Linked DNA regions of Homo sapiens: region 2 is linked to region 1. The links are contacts of gene promoters, found by promoter capture Hi-C in blood cells and fetal thymus (Javierre and others, 2016). All regions are on one chromosome and are shown on one strand. The core of a region is centred on a gene start or on the middle of the fragment in contact, and the rest is flanking DNA. Distances in the headings are between cores, read along the strand shown. Region 1 holds the start of PREP (prolyl endopeptidase). Region 2 overlaps ATG5 (autophagy related 5).

What was found. Contacts are between HindIII fragments. The CHiCAGO score rates a contact against its expected background, and 5 or more counts as called.
Region 2: a contact is called between a fragment that was not itself captured here and the fragment with the promoter of PREP in region 1, in 2 of 17 cell types (naive CD8 T cells and naive B cells). The highest score is 6.8, in naive CD8 T cells.

Annotation. Positions count from the first base shown.
Region 1 is chr6:105,398,717-105,405,448 of GRCh38, reverse strand. PREP (prolyl endopeptidase) reads left to right here and starts at 2,367. Exons shown (of 15, transcript NM_002726.5): 1 at 2,367-2,602. The coding sequence starts at 2,558. RefSeq lists a silencer at 2,090-2,659. The HindIII fragment of the contact is 7,847 bases long and covers 1-4,658 here.
Region 2 is chr6:106,192,495-106,199,226 of GRCh38, reverse strand. The region is part of intron 7 of ATG5 (autophagy related 5); the gene reads left to right. Among named protein-coding and RNA genes, the nearest start is that of PRDM1, 110 kb to the right of the region's middle. The HindIII fragment of the contact is 3,183 bases long and covers 1,095-4,277 here.

The sequences.
Region 1 (6,732 bases), core at 1,118-3,617:
CAGCAGTAAATGATCACTAGCCTGCCTTCTTCAGAGGGTGACTCTTCTTAACTGAGTGGGGCACAAAGTTTGAGGTCAGAGGAGAGGCTGAAGGCTGCCCTGGAAGTCCTTCTATGTCTCTGCTCACCCTCATTCTCCCAAAGGCCTAGGGTTCTGAATTAGAGCATGAGTTATCACAGTGTAAATTCTACAATTCCCCTGAAAACAGTCTACAGTGTCAGAGGTCAAAGAGTGCTCTGGTATTTATTCTGGAGGTGGCACTTCCATTCTGAGATAGTTCAAATACTTCCTTTCTCTGCATTGTCTATGGAAAAAGTTGACTTTGCAGTCAACTTATGAATATGAATCTTGTATTGTCTTAGCTGTGTGATGACTTTGAACTCATTCCCTTAAAGCTGCTGAGATTCTTTTTCCTCATCTGTAAAATGGTCTTTGCTATAAGGATTAAAGGAGACAACACATTGGCAAACAAAAGTGCAACTAACGTGGTCAATAGGAGGGGAAAGGGTGCTCTCCCATCTTCCCTCCCACTCCATCTCACTCCAGATGCAGACAACCTACTGCTGGGAGCCTCTTGCACTGTCTGTGCCACTACAAACCTTTACCTCTCAGGGCCCAGAGGAACTGGGCACCAGAACGGCTGACTGAAAGGGAAGAGAGGATGATACCTAGGTTTGATTTGTCCTTTGGGTACCACAATTCCCACATTTTCTTTAGGTCCTGCTAAATTGAAGTTTTCCCTGCAAATGGGTGCCCTGTAGACTCTAGAGTATCTCTACTTATTTATGAGTAGGAAGGCCGTCAGAGTGGTTAAGAATGAGCATTGGTATTGGAGAGACCTAGGTTGGAATCCTGGCTCTACTTTTTCACTTTTTGTGAAGTCCTGGGCAAAAGTCAGCCCGTTTTCCTTAACTATAAAATAGGGACATTAGTTCTAGATAGTTTCCTGATACACTGAAAAAAACACTCCATAAGCATTAATATTATCATTAGGGGGTCTGCTGGGTCAAGTGCTCCTGGGTTGCTCTTTAAAAAATCCCTCACAGTGGCAGAAGGAGGAGACAATGCCTGCCAGTCCCTGCGTCAGGTGACAGCCAGGGAAGGCACGAGGTGGGAACTGGAATTGGGACTTCTGGGCTGTAGTGGGCTATGCCCCCGTGTTTGCACAAAGTTTGTTATCAATAGCGTGAGTTCTCCCAGAATTGAGGATTCTCAGATTGCCCCAGGAGGGGGTATCTGGGATCAGATGCAGAAAATGATTATGACACATCACTATGAACAGAAATGGTGAACTAAGGGTGAGGCATGGAATTGGGACCATATCACAAAAGAGACGGAGGACACAAGTTTATAATAGTTACCATATCCACTTAGATTCCGGAGGTGAAGGACTTTCTGGTCACACCTATTCTTTCTTCCAGGACTTTTTGGAAGCCAGGGATAGAAAACACACTGGGCACACACTATACCCCTGATGGCTGGGGCTATAAAGTCTCTTCTGGGTGGTCCAGGAAGCAAGACCAGAACACATACCGCTGCTGGCCCGAGGATGATGACATGTAACTATTAAATTTTCATGGGTTTGAGGTCAAGTATCTTGTCTATTATCTTTTCTTCCCATAAACAGTAGGTGCTCAATAAACAAGCATGACAGCAGGAGAGGAAATGAGGAAAAGGCAGGATAAATAAAATACCCCTGATGAGTTCCAGGCCTCTTAATCTTGGTTCTTTCTCAATCGGTAAATATCAAATAAGGGCTCAACCGTAGTCCTGCCAACACCTCCAAAGCATCTCCATAGTCCGGATGCTAAACCACCCAGTGTCCACCAGGGGTCCTGGGATGAAGGGAGACGTGTTTCTTTCACGGTCATCATGATCGATTACTTCTTCCCTTCAAGTCCAGAGTCGCAGGCAGTGGACATAAGGCCACCTCCAGCCCTCTGCTTCCAAGGCTGGGGAGAGGCAAGGTCTCCCTTCGCCGCCGTAACCAGCCCGGGAACAGGAAGGCTGGGGAAGGTGGGGGACTCCATCAGCAAGGAAACCCTGGGGCTTCACTCTCCTACAGGCGGTCCTGCGAGCGCGGCCAAAGAGAGGCAGGGCGCTAGGGAAGGCGCGGGGACCCGGCCTCGGTGGAAGGACTTGTCCCCGGCGCAGAGGACGGGCGGGCGGCCGGGCGTGGGCGAGCGCGTAGCCGGCGTGCTCCTCCGTGCGCCCGGGCGGCGCGGGCGCGGCCGGCGATCCTGCAGAGGGAGCTGTGCGCCGGCCTTAGCGCACGCTCGGTGCCGCCCGCTCCCTCTTGCCGCCGCCGCCGCCGCTGGGCCCGCCCGCCGGGGAGGGGCTCCCGGCCTCGCAGACAGCGGCTTCCTGCTTTCTGCACGTCCTCGCCGCCGCGCCGCCAGTCCGTTTGTGCTAGCTCTGGCCGTGAGCCGGCCGCCCGCTGCCGCCGGCCGCCCCGCAGCTGCCTGCGCCCCAGCCGCGCCTCGCGGCCAGCCCGGCTAGCTCAGGTCCGCTCCCGGAGCCCGCGCCCCTCCACGCTGCCCCCTGCCTGTCCCCGGCCATGCTGTCCCTTCAGTACCCCGACGTGTACCGCGACGAGACCGCCGTAAGTATCTCTGCCTCCGCCCAGAGGGCTCCCGGGCAAAGGTGCCCAGCCTGCCTGACCCGTGGCACCCGCAGCTCCTCTTCCTGTAGGCCTTCGACCCCCGCGTCCCTCCCCTCCCCCTCGGCCTTTGTTTGGGAGAATTGGGCCGGGGGCGCGGGGCTCCTCTGCAGCGCTGGGGTCCCGCGGGCGGTCACTCTGCTAGTGCTGGCGGCGGAGCCTGTGGGCAGCGCCGCCCGGCCGCTTCCTAGAATCAATGGGGTCAAGGGCAGACGCCCGGGTAGAATGGGTGTCTTCAGGGAGTGGGAAGACAGACGGTGTCACTGCTTTTTTGACTGGCGAAGCCTCTTGCTTAAATATGGTGGTAGGAGAAAGTGTCCGCTGGGGTGTGTGTGTGTGTTTGTGTGTGTGTGTGTGTGTGTGTGTGTGTGATGTCACATTTAAAAACGAAAACAAACTTTTAAAACTTACACTTTAAAGTCCTTAGAGTTGAAGCATATTCGTTCGATTTTAAAAGGTGTGTTGAGCGCCTACCCTGTCCCAGGTCGGATGAGGCGCACTGGGCCCTGGGGATGCCAGAGACCCGGACAGAAATGGGGAAGGCGGAGCAGTGACCCCATAGTGTGGCCGTGCTGATCCATGTTTTCTTAAACAAGAAAAGGAGTTGAGAGAGGGTGAGAGGAGGTCTTAGAAGGGAGAGGGGTTGACCTTTTTCAGAATGAGTAAGTTTTGTCTAGTGGCGGAGTTGACCACCATTTGCCTAAGCTGCAGATGAACTCAAGGTAACTGTTGAGATCCAGTAGGCGGAATTCTGGGCAGACACCTTTTTTGTGTAAACGTGAATTTGACGACTTAGGAACTGGATTGCATCCACATGTTGTGGCCGTGATTCTCTTACTAATAGCTACATTTCTCAGATTACTTAAAATATAATCAGAATAAGTATGTATTTGTGTGATACAGTTTTAATGTTTTTCTGTTTACTTTCCCAATTTATGCCAGAAAGTGTTTACTTTAAAGCACGTGCTACATTGGGGTAAAGGGTGCTGACGCTTCGGAGTAAAGGACATACTGTTTTAAATTAAGACTTCCAAGTGACACTGATGCATTCATTCATGGTTTCTTTGACCAGTGGCCATCTGGTAACCATGTTTTCTCAGTCTGCTCAGCTGCTTGCTTATTAAATTTACCCTAACAGCTCAAGAAGCTCTATTCCTGTGGTTTAAAGGTTGTTTCCTTTGAATATGGGAGTAAAGTGATCCTGCTGGAATGGAGAAAGAGGCTGGACTAAATGAAAAGACCAGAGCGCTAGTTCTGGTTCTGTCATTCACTAGTTAGGTGACTTTTAGCAGCTCTTTTACCTGTTATGGGCCTTTTTTCTCATATGAGAAATATTTGGACTGACCATAGGGCTTACTTGCTTCTGCAGTAGGAATGTTGTCATTCATTCATTCATTCATGTGACAGTCTAGCTCTGCAGTGTTCCAGACTAGTAATGGGAAGCCAGGTGACTCTCTTGGTTCTGGTTCTTGAGGATCAGAATATAAAGAATTACCCATTCTGTGGTTTGATAAGTGCAGTTTTAAGTTTGTTTTTAGAGTTACTTGTTAGTTTTTCACCACTGTGGGTGCCTAAATCCTACAGTTTGTTTATTTATGTTTGATATTTCATGAAAGGTTTAAGTGAGGATTTTATGAAGACGTCTAAAAGATTATAAACAACTCGGAAGGGTATACTGTGGATTTTAATACACTCCAGTTCCTTCTCATTAAGCAACTCATGCTAACTCTAAGCCTCGTGGCCAAGGGAATGTAGCTCTGGCCCAGTCTGGATCTTGTTGTGTGGCTCCTTGATAGCTTACGGTGGAGTATCTTTTTTTTTGCATTAAGGTTTTGGTTACTAAGCCCTAGGCTTGACTTAGGTATTTGCTTAAATGGTAGCCTTTGATTTCTAGGATGGGTTTGTTTCTCCCCAGCATCAGCTGGGCATTGCGGTAGCTCTCTGTCTCTTTCACTTGAGCACCTTCAGCCATATGCTCAGTACTCTCCTGCTGAAAGCTTTGGAGCGTTGAGACCATTTTGGTGGAGTTCTGCCTTTTTGGGCAGAAATTTGGAAGCCATGACACTTCTTGTGCAATACCATCGACCATTGCTTAAGAGAGTTGCTATCAGGAAATTCAGGCCTGTCACAGGGGACTCACACTCTGATAGAAGAGGATTTAGGGTGAGAGGAGAACACAGAAGAGGATGGGACTAATTTCCATCAGGAGGGGGAGGCATTATGTGAATTGAGTCTGGAAGTTGACCAGTTGGGTAAGGGACAAAGGACATTCCTGATCCTGTGACTAAAGTAAAGCCATAGCTATGCAGGCCTGGATTGTTGTGGAATTGCATTTGTTTGTAGGGTGGCAAGAAGGCGATTCTGACCAGACCATCAACAGATGGATAAATTTGCATGGGGCTGGAAAGATGAGCAGGGCAGGTTTGATGGGTCCTGCCTGCTGTGTGTACGAGTCTGCACTTTATCCTGAAGGCAGTGGGTGAGTTGTTGAACAGTACAAGTAAAATATCGAACAGGATTAAGTAGTACAGTACCTTATCAGGGCTCTATTTTTAAAGCTTCTTGAGGAGATCAAGAATGATTAGCAAACTTAAATCAGGTGGAAGAATTTGATTCAAGGGAAGTGGCTATAAGACACATCCACCTCATTTGTAGGGTATGGTCTTAGAAAAAATTGGAGGTGGAAAGTTGTGGCTCCTGGGATTAACTCTGGAATTGTCCTGGAGAGAATGTTTCTTGTCCTAGTTAAAAATATCTGATCAATAACTTCCATCTGCTGTAGATGATGGTGCCCGGTCTGGGCAGATAGGGCTGCTTGGTGTAAAATTCTAGATATGCCTGAATTTAGTAACATAATCCAGGAACATTTTTTAAGTGTCTATTCTGGCCCCTCTGATGAGTGTTTGGGGAAAAGGGTGGGCTGACTGCTTTAGTCCCAGGTCTGGTTCTGAACTTGATATGGTTCTGGGCATGTTACCCAGCCTTATCCCTGCTGTTGCTCCTAGAAGTGCATGATTGAAAGATGCTTTACAATTCAAAATTTTCTGATTTCTTAATGCTAGGAAAAGCAGATTGTTATTTTAAGCCTATTTTATAACCACTTCAAGGTGTGTAAAACGTAAAAGACTTGCAGATGAGAAGAAAAGATGAAAAGCTGTTGTTCGGTGGTGACAATCTGCTAAAATTTAGAGAGGTCAGAATTGAAAATTGGTAACTTTATGAAGACCCATCTGGAGAGGCTTTAGTCGGGTTTTATGTTCCTTGCTCTTGTTTTTACGTCCCTTGCTCAGTCAGTTGTTTAATGAAAATATATACAGAGTGTTCTGGCTTACCTGCCCATTTATCCAGTTGTGCATTTCCCCAGGAGTTCTTTGACCTGGCATCAGACAAGGACAGATGTGGAAAGCCCGGTGTTGTAAGGGCCAAGGAGATTGTTCTCACCCAGCCAGAGCCACACTGGAACTAGAGCAGCACTAGGTTTTCTTTAGGAAATAGCCCTTACCTTCTGGCATTGTAGAACAAAGCAAGGAGACAGATTAAAAAATTCATCTGAGATAGAGGTAGTCTTCCCAACAGCTTTATACAAGAAGCCTTAACTAGAATGTTGGAGTGGTTCAGAGACTTGATTGGCAAGACATTGTCAGTGTGGTTTCATTAATGGGGTTAATCTTTTTTTTTTTCTGAGATGAAGTCTTGCTCTGTTGCCCGGGCTGGAGTGCAATAGGCGTTGTCTCAGCTCACTGCAACCTCTGCCTCCTGGGTTCAGGAGACTCCCCTGCCTTAGCCTCCCGAGTAGCTGGGATTACAGCACCTGCCACCATGCCCGGCTAATTTTTAAATTTTGAGTAGAGACAGGATTTCAGCATGTTGGCCAGGCTGGTCTTGAACTCCTGACCTCAAGTGATCCGCCTGCCTCAGTCTCCCAAAGTGCTGGGATTATGGCTGTGAGCCACTGCACTCTGTCCTAATGGGGTTAATCTTGATGGTATCAGGTGGAGAGATTTTGTAATGATTTTTACTGCTGGATAATTTCTTTTGGCATAATCACTTGAGGAGTGGTGAAAACTGTTTCT
Region 2 (6,732 bases), core at 1,437-3,936, 790 kb before region 1:
GGGTAGCTTCCTAGGGGTGGAATGACAAGGTCATATAGTAAGTTTATTTTTTATTTTAAAAGAAACTACTGAGCTTTCCCAAAGTGGCTGTACCATTTTACAGTCTCACCAGCGGTGTATAAGGATTCCAGTTTCTCCACATCCTCAGTCACATGTATTGCCATCCTAGTGGTATCTCATGATGATTTTAATTCTCATTTTTCTAATGGCTAATGGTATTGAACATGTTTTCATGTGCTTATTATAATTTGTAGATCTCTTTGATGAAGTGTCTATTCAAATCCTTGTTTTTTTTCATGGATTGTTTCCTTATTACTCAGTTTTTAGCATTATTTATATATTCTGGATACAAGTTCTTTATCAGATACACAATTTGCAGATATTTTCTCCTAGTCTGTGACTTGCCTTCATTTTCTTTCTCTCTTTCTCACTCTCTCTCTTTTTTTTTTCCCAGACAGGGTCTCGCTCTGTCACCCAGGTTGGAGCGCAGTGGTGCAATCTTGGCTAACTGCAACCTCCACCTCCGGGTTCAAGTGATTCTCGTGACTCAGCCTCCCTAGTAGCTGGGATTACAGGTGCCTGCCACCATGCCTGGCTAATATTTGTGTTTTTAGTAGAGACAGGGTTTCACTGTGTTGGCCAGACTGGTCTCAAACTCCTGACCACAGGGGATTCATCCGCCTCAGCCTCCCAAAGTGCTGGCATTACAAGTGTGAGCTACCATGCCCAGCCTTGTCTTCATTTTCTTTTGAAGGATAAAAGCATTTAATTTTGGTGAATTCCTGTCTATCAAGTTTTTTTTAATGGATTGTGTTCAGTTAAATAACTAAAACTTTTTTTCTTATAGGCAATACATTTACATATTTTAAAAATCAAAGCATATATAAAGGAATTTAGTAAAAAGTCTCTTTCCTAACTACCTGTTCACCAAACTCTAACCTGGTTCCCCTTTCTAGAGACAACCAGTGTTGCCATTTTCCTGTATATCTTTAGAGATAGTTAAGTAAACTTTTTATTTTTGAACTCAGGCTACAGAAATTTTGCCTTAGTAACTCATAACTTCTGAGAAATTCCCAGAAATTCAAGAATAAGCTTACTTTTTTAGTTCATTTTCTCTGTTATAAGGGTGTTTGTTTTTGATCTATTTAATATCTATTTTTGTTTTTGAGGATTTTGGAATATAGATGAGTTATTTTCATTTGAAGTGTAATGAAGAGGTTAATCGTTTTTATTGCTGATAGAGATAAACCCCATAAACCTCTTACCTGTCCGTGGCAGCACTGGCTTTCAGTTACTCATTTCTCTGTATTGTGTTTTTTTCCCTTTTTGAGTACTTTGTAGTAGTACTTTAAAGAACATTAAAAACTAGATGCTGTGTTAGTCTGTTTGTGTTGCTATAAAGAAACACCTGAGGTTGGGTAATTTATAAAGAAAAAAGGTTTATTTAACTCACAGCTCTACTGCCTGGAGATTGGGCATCTCATGAGACCCTCAGGCTGCTTCTGCTCATGGTGGAAGCTGAAGGGAAGTTGGTGTGTGCGGTGGTCACATGGTGAGAGAGGAAGCCAGAGAGAGCAGGGTGGTGCCAGGCTTTTTATAATAACCAGCTCTTGTGGGAACTAAAACAGTGAGAACTCACTCCTCCACACCCAGGGAGGGCATGAATCTATTCATGAGGGATCCACCCCCGCCCCCCCCACCCCAACCCAAATACCTCCCATTAGGCCCCATTTCCAACTTTGGTGATAAAATTTCAACACGAGGTTTGGCGGGGACAAGCAACCACACTATAACAAATGATTTTATCAATTAGGAGTAAATGAAATTTAAGCCAGAGTTTAATATTTGAATAACTACCTTTTTTGAAAACAAAAGGCAGGGTCTCACTGTGTTGCCCAGGCTGGTCTTACATTTCTCACTCAAGTGATACTCCCACTTTAGCTTCACAAAGTACTGAGATTATAGGCATGAGCTACTGCACCCAGCCTCAAATGACTACCTTATTGCACTTTTCCTAGATTTTTTTCGACAATCTACTTTTTAAAATATGTTGTTTTAAACTTCCTTTTTTATAACATCCTTGACTATAGAATGAGAACACTGCAATGAAACCCAAAACTTTGGAAGTAATGTGTTCTGTAATGATCTGTCCCCTAACAGCAGCACAATTGTCACAGACACAAAATGATCCATATTTGCTAGTCCCAAGTTTATATAAGTGGGGGGTCTCCCTTGATACATTTGTGTTTTATCTGTAAAAACTAAAGTTAACAGTTGCTTTTTAATCCAGGAAAGAGGGCTTACTTGAAATTTTATATTGTTTATTTTGTTAATGGATTCATTTGTTCAATTCATTTTTATTTCATGGTTGCCAATTTCTAGTTTGTGGGTGTGGTTAAGGAGTGCCTAGAGTGGGAAGAAATTAGTTGGGTGTTAATACTGTATTTTACTTCTTTAAAGAATTGTATAACTGTAGAACTTTCAATCTACTTTTTTTTTTTTTTGAGACTGATTCTCACTCTGTTGCTCAGGCTGGAGTGCAGTGATGCCATCTCAGCTCACTGCAACCCCTGCCTCCCAGGTTCAAGCAATCTTGTGCTTCGGTCACGCAAGTAGCTGGGATTACAGGCATGTGCCACCATGCCTGGCTAATTTTTGTATATTTGGTAGAGACGGGGTTTCACCATGTTGGCCAGGCTGGTCTTGAACTCCTGGCCTCAAGTGATTCACCCACCTTGGCCTCCCAAAGTTCACTCTCTTAATTTTTGCATGATTGTGCCAAACGTCTCTTAACCACTTAATTGCAGAAATAGGTTTAGAACACAGGTCTCCATCTCCTGGTGGTCTTTTGGTTTTTCCACTTTACTATGCTGCCATTTGTTTTTGTTTTCTTTCTTTTTAACTTTTTGGTTTAGTTTAAAATAACATTCTGAAATACTTGCTTTTTCCTTACTCTTTATTTTACTTTCACAAATCTTAGTCTTCAATTTGTGTTTAGTATCTAATCTGCCTACATGCTCTTCTCTCTTAATAATATTTCTGATATGATCTTAGGAACCTGAGTGTCTACTGTTTTTATTTTGTTTGTTTTGTTATTTTAGTGTTCCTATATATAATCCTGACCACTCTTGTTGAATTTTTTAAATGGTGATTATGAACATCAGACACGTAAATGAAAAGCATTCAAGTGCTTTGAACTGACACTCTCAGAATACACCTTTATTCTGCTCTTATACCCAGGTTACAAGACAAGATTAACGTGACCCTACACAAGAAAGGCACACAAATTTGTGAAGCTGTTCTTTTAAAAGAGATTCTTTGTTCTGTTAAATTTCTAGGCTGCTCTACGTGTACATCCTTTTCTAGGGGATACACAGTGTGACTTCCCTTGTGGTTTTTTTTTTTTTTTTTTTTTTTTAGAGGGGAGCAGTGAGGCAGCGCAGCCACACAACCTAATCCACAAACCTTCCTTTTAGGTGATTTCAGGTGCTGTAGGTGAGTACATCTGTGTGACAGACTTCTCCCCATGCAAACTGTCAAATGCTTCTCTTGACTGCAGAACACACACTTCATTGAAATGACATAGATAATGCCTATTCTTTTCAGGTATTTTTGATGGTATCTTTCATACCAGGAGGAAGCCACATCTCTAACACATCTCAGTATCTTTTCTTTAGAAAAAAACTTTTATCTTTGCTTCTTCTTTTTATTACGTATTAAAAAAAATTGTCATTTAAAAATCTATGTAGAGTATCCAAAACATCGAGTCACTGTTTCAGTAAAAAACTGTTTACTGCCTGGTTCAGTTCACCTGTAGTATTGTCAGATGTGTCAAACATGAAGCATTTTGACACACCTGCATTCAACTTAAGTTGAAAGCGAAAGACTTTAAGATTGGGTGTGTATGGATAAGAACTTGCTGTCATCACATGATGAAAAGAGAAAGTACTTCATAAAAGTTATGTGGCACCATTGTCTTCTACTCCCTACAAGTGATTCAGTGATGAAAGAATTTTGTCTGATTTCATCATATGAAAGTCAAATGTACTAGTATTTATGAATACGTGCTTTAGGTCATTGTTCTTGTGGAGTAACTAATGATGAGCTGCTGCTTGTGGAGTAACTAATGATGAGCTCTTTTGTGTGTTCCTTTCTTTTTTTGTAAATGGCTAAGGGAATTAGTCAAGTTGGAGGTAACAGGAAATGACCAAAGGTGAGCTCAGGTAAATTGTTTTTGTCGTTTCAGCTGTAGTTAAAATGACTCAGAGATCTAAGCTTCTGTGCCAGACCTGAGTGAAATATTTTTTTCTTTGTACATTAAAAATAACACATCAAGAACATTTATTTTTACCTTGGAGAATACAAAACACCTATAAGCTTTACCCAATTATACTTCATTTCCCAGTCTTCTAATGTAATGTATAACAACGTGGTAAGCTAGGCGGGTGGATCACCTGAGGTCAGGAGTTAGAGACCAGCCTGACCAACATGGTGAAACCCCGTCTCTACTAAAAGTACAAAATTAGCTAGGCGTGGTGGTGCATGCCTGTAATCCCAGCTACTTGGGAGGCTGAGGCAGGAGAATTGGTTGAACCCAGGAGCCAGAGGTTGCAGTGACCTGGAATGCGCCATTGCAGTCTAGCCTGGGCACCAAGAGTGAAACTCCATCTCAAAAAAAAAAGAAAAAGAAAAAGAAAAGAAAAAATGGTATATTCACATTTTTTTCTCCTTTGCTGTATATGATTAGATTATGTTAATAAAGTGAATTAGTTGACAAGATAAATTTTTTTCAGACATGAAGCAGTTAGAAAAAGAAACATATAAATCTCATGCTGACCGTATAAAGCAGATACTTTTAAGTATTTGGACAAAATTGAAGCTTGTTAGTATCTCGTGATTTGAGATAATATTTGAGCAATAATCACATTTGTCAGTGTGATGGCACTGCCCCCGGAAGAATAGGCACTCAGTTTGCAAACTCATGCCACAGGAATAAAAAAAACTCCAATTCCCAAACCTCATCAGATTGCGGGTTTTACAATTTCAGTAATTCTTTAGATATTCATTTAGAATTTGAATTAGAAGGAACTAGTATCTCTGTACCTTCACGCTATTTGATTTGGGCAATAATAATGCTGATTATTTTCATTCTCCACTACTGGAAATGATGACATTACTGGACTGACAGAAGATGCTTCTGGTTTCTCCTTCTGAATTATTGTTATCTTAATCTCAAGAAGTTAAATGAATTAACCTGACTGTTCCCAAAATGAGAAACACACACTTGCACAACTATTTCATCTTTAGCACTAGAAAACAAAATTCTCTTACCAAAATAATAGTATATGCAGACAGTTAAAAACAAGTTATCTTTTCATTGAAACAGGTACTATGGGGCTTCATTCTGACCATATGTAAACAGTACAATTATTGTCTATATTTTAAATAAAGCAAGTAAGTTGAGCTATTCTGTAGTTCATACTTGACAAATATTAATGGACCCTATTACACCCAACTAGAATTACTGGGTCATTTTATGAAAGCAGATAAAATAATATTGTTTTCAAAGTTTATTTATGTATTTATTAATGAACAAGGTTTAATTTTTAACTTTTACCACATTTTTATCTTATTGTCAGGAAGCTTTTAATCAGTTTTAAAATGGCCTTACAATCACTTAATTTAATACACTTTGCTTTTTATAATTACAACTGATCATATGGGATTTTTTATATTATTTAAATTTTAGTTTATGTCCTCCTTACTAAGAAATACAGAGATTATAAGCAAAAGTCAATGAAAGAATTAATATGGACATGTTTTTAAATTGTTTAAAATGTTAAGAGTCAAAGCTCTGAAAATATAATAAAGATATAAAATGTATACATGGAAAGAGATATGTGGTATATCTGGTATTTGGTATATACTATGATATTGCATGTTCATTAAGACCTGTACTGCTAAGTGAGTATGCATCCGGAAGAAGTTAATGTAAGTATTTTTAAATGGGTTTGTATTTTTCTGATAAACAGCACTCTCCTTCTGTTTGTGATCATAGGATAAAAGCCCTGTAAGCTTGTATATGTTCATTTTTACTGCTACATCATGTAGTGTGCTCTTAAGATTGAGATCTCATTCCCCAGGAAGCATTTCTGTCCAAGATTAATTGCCCTTTTAAAATCAGCGTTTGATGTATTTCTTTGGCTATATCCTGGCTTGGTTTAACCCTCTTTGACCTGACCTCGCTGACTATTACCTCCGTGGCTGAGACAAAATCCTTCAGCATGATGTATGCACTTCACATTTCAGCCTGTGGTTTTTCATGTCGATGGATTCAATTAGTTGGTGTTTTACTAATGAACATATCAGAGGTTAAAGAATTTGTCAGACAGAACAAAATTGTTCAGGCTAGTGGTAATCAGAAAGCTCGTCGCTCTATTTTTTAAAACTTCTAGGCAGTATTAAGTATTTTTCAGAAATTTTACCTTCAGTATTACACATTCCAAGATAGCAAATCAAGTCATTTTCTGCTGAATTATAAAATATAAATATGAAGCTACAAAGCTGAACACAATGGTTATATCATTTGATCTTAGACTTCTACTCCATATTTAAAGTATGAGCTTTTAAAAAATTAATTAAACTGAAATTTTCTTGTTAAAAACATGTATGAATTTCCCTTAAAGATACATCATCCATTTCTTTAAGCCTCCTTTAAATATTAATAGTAAG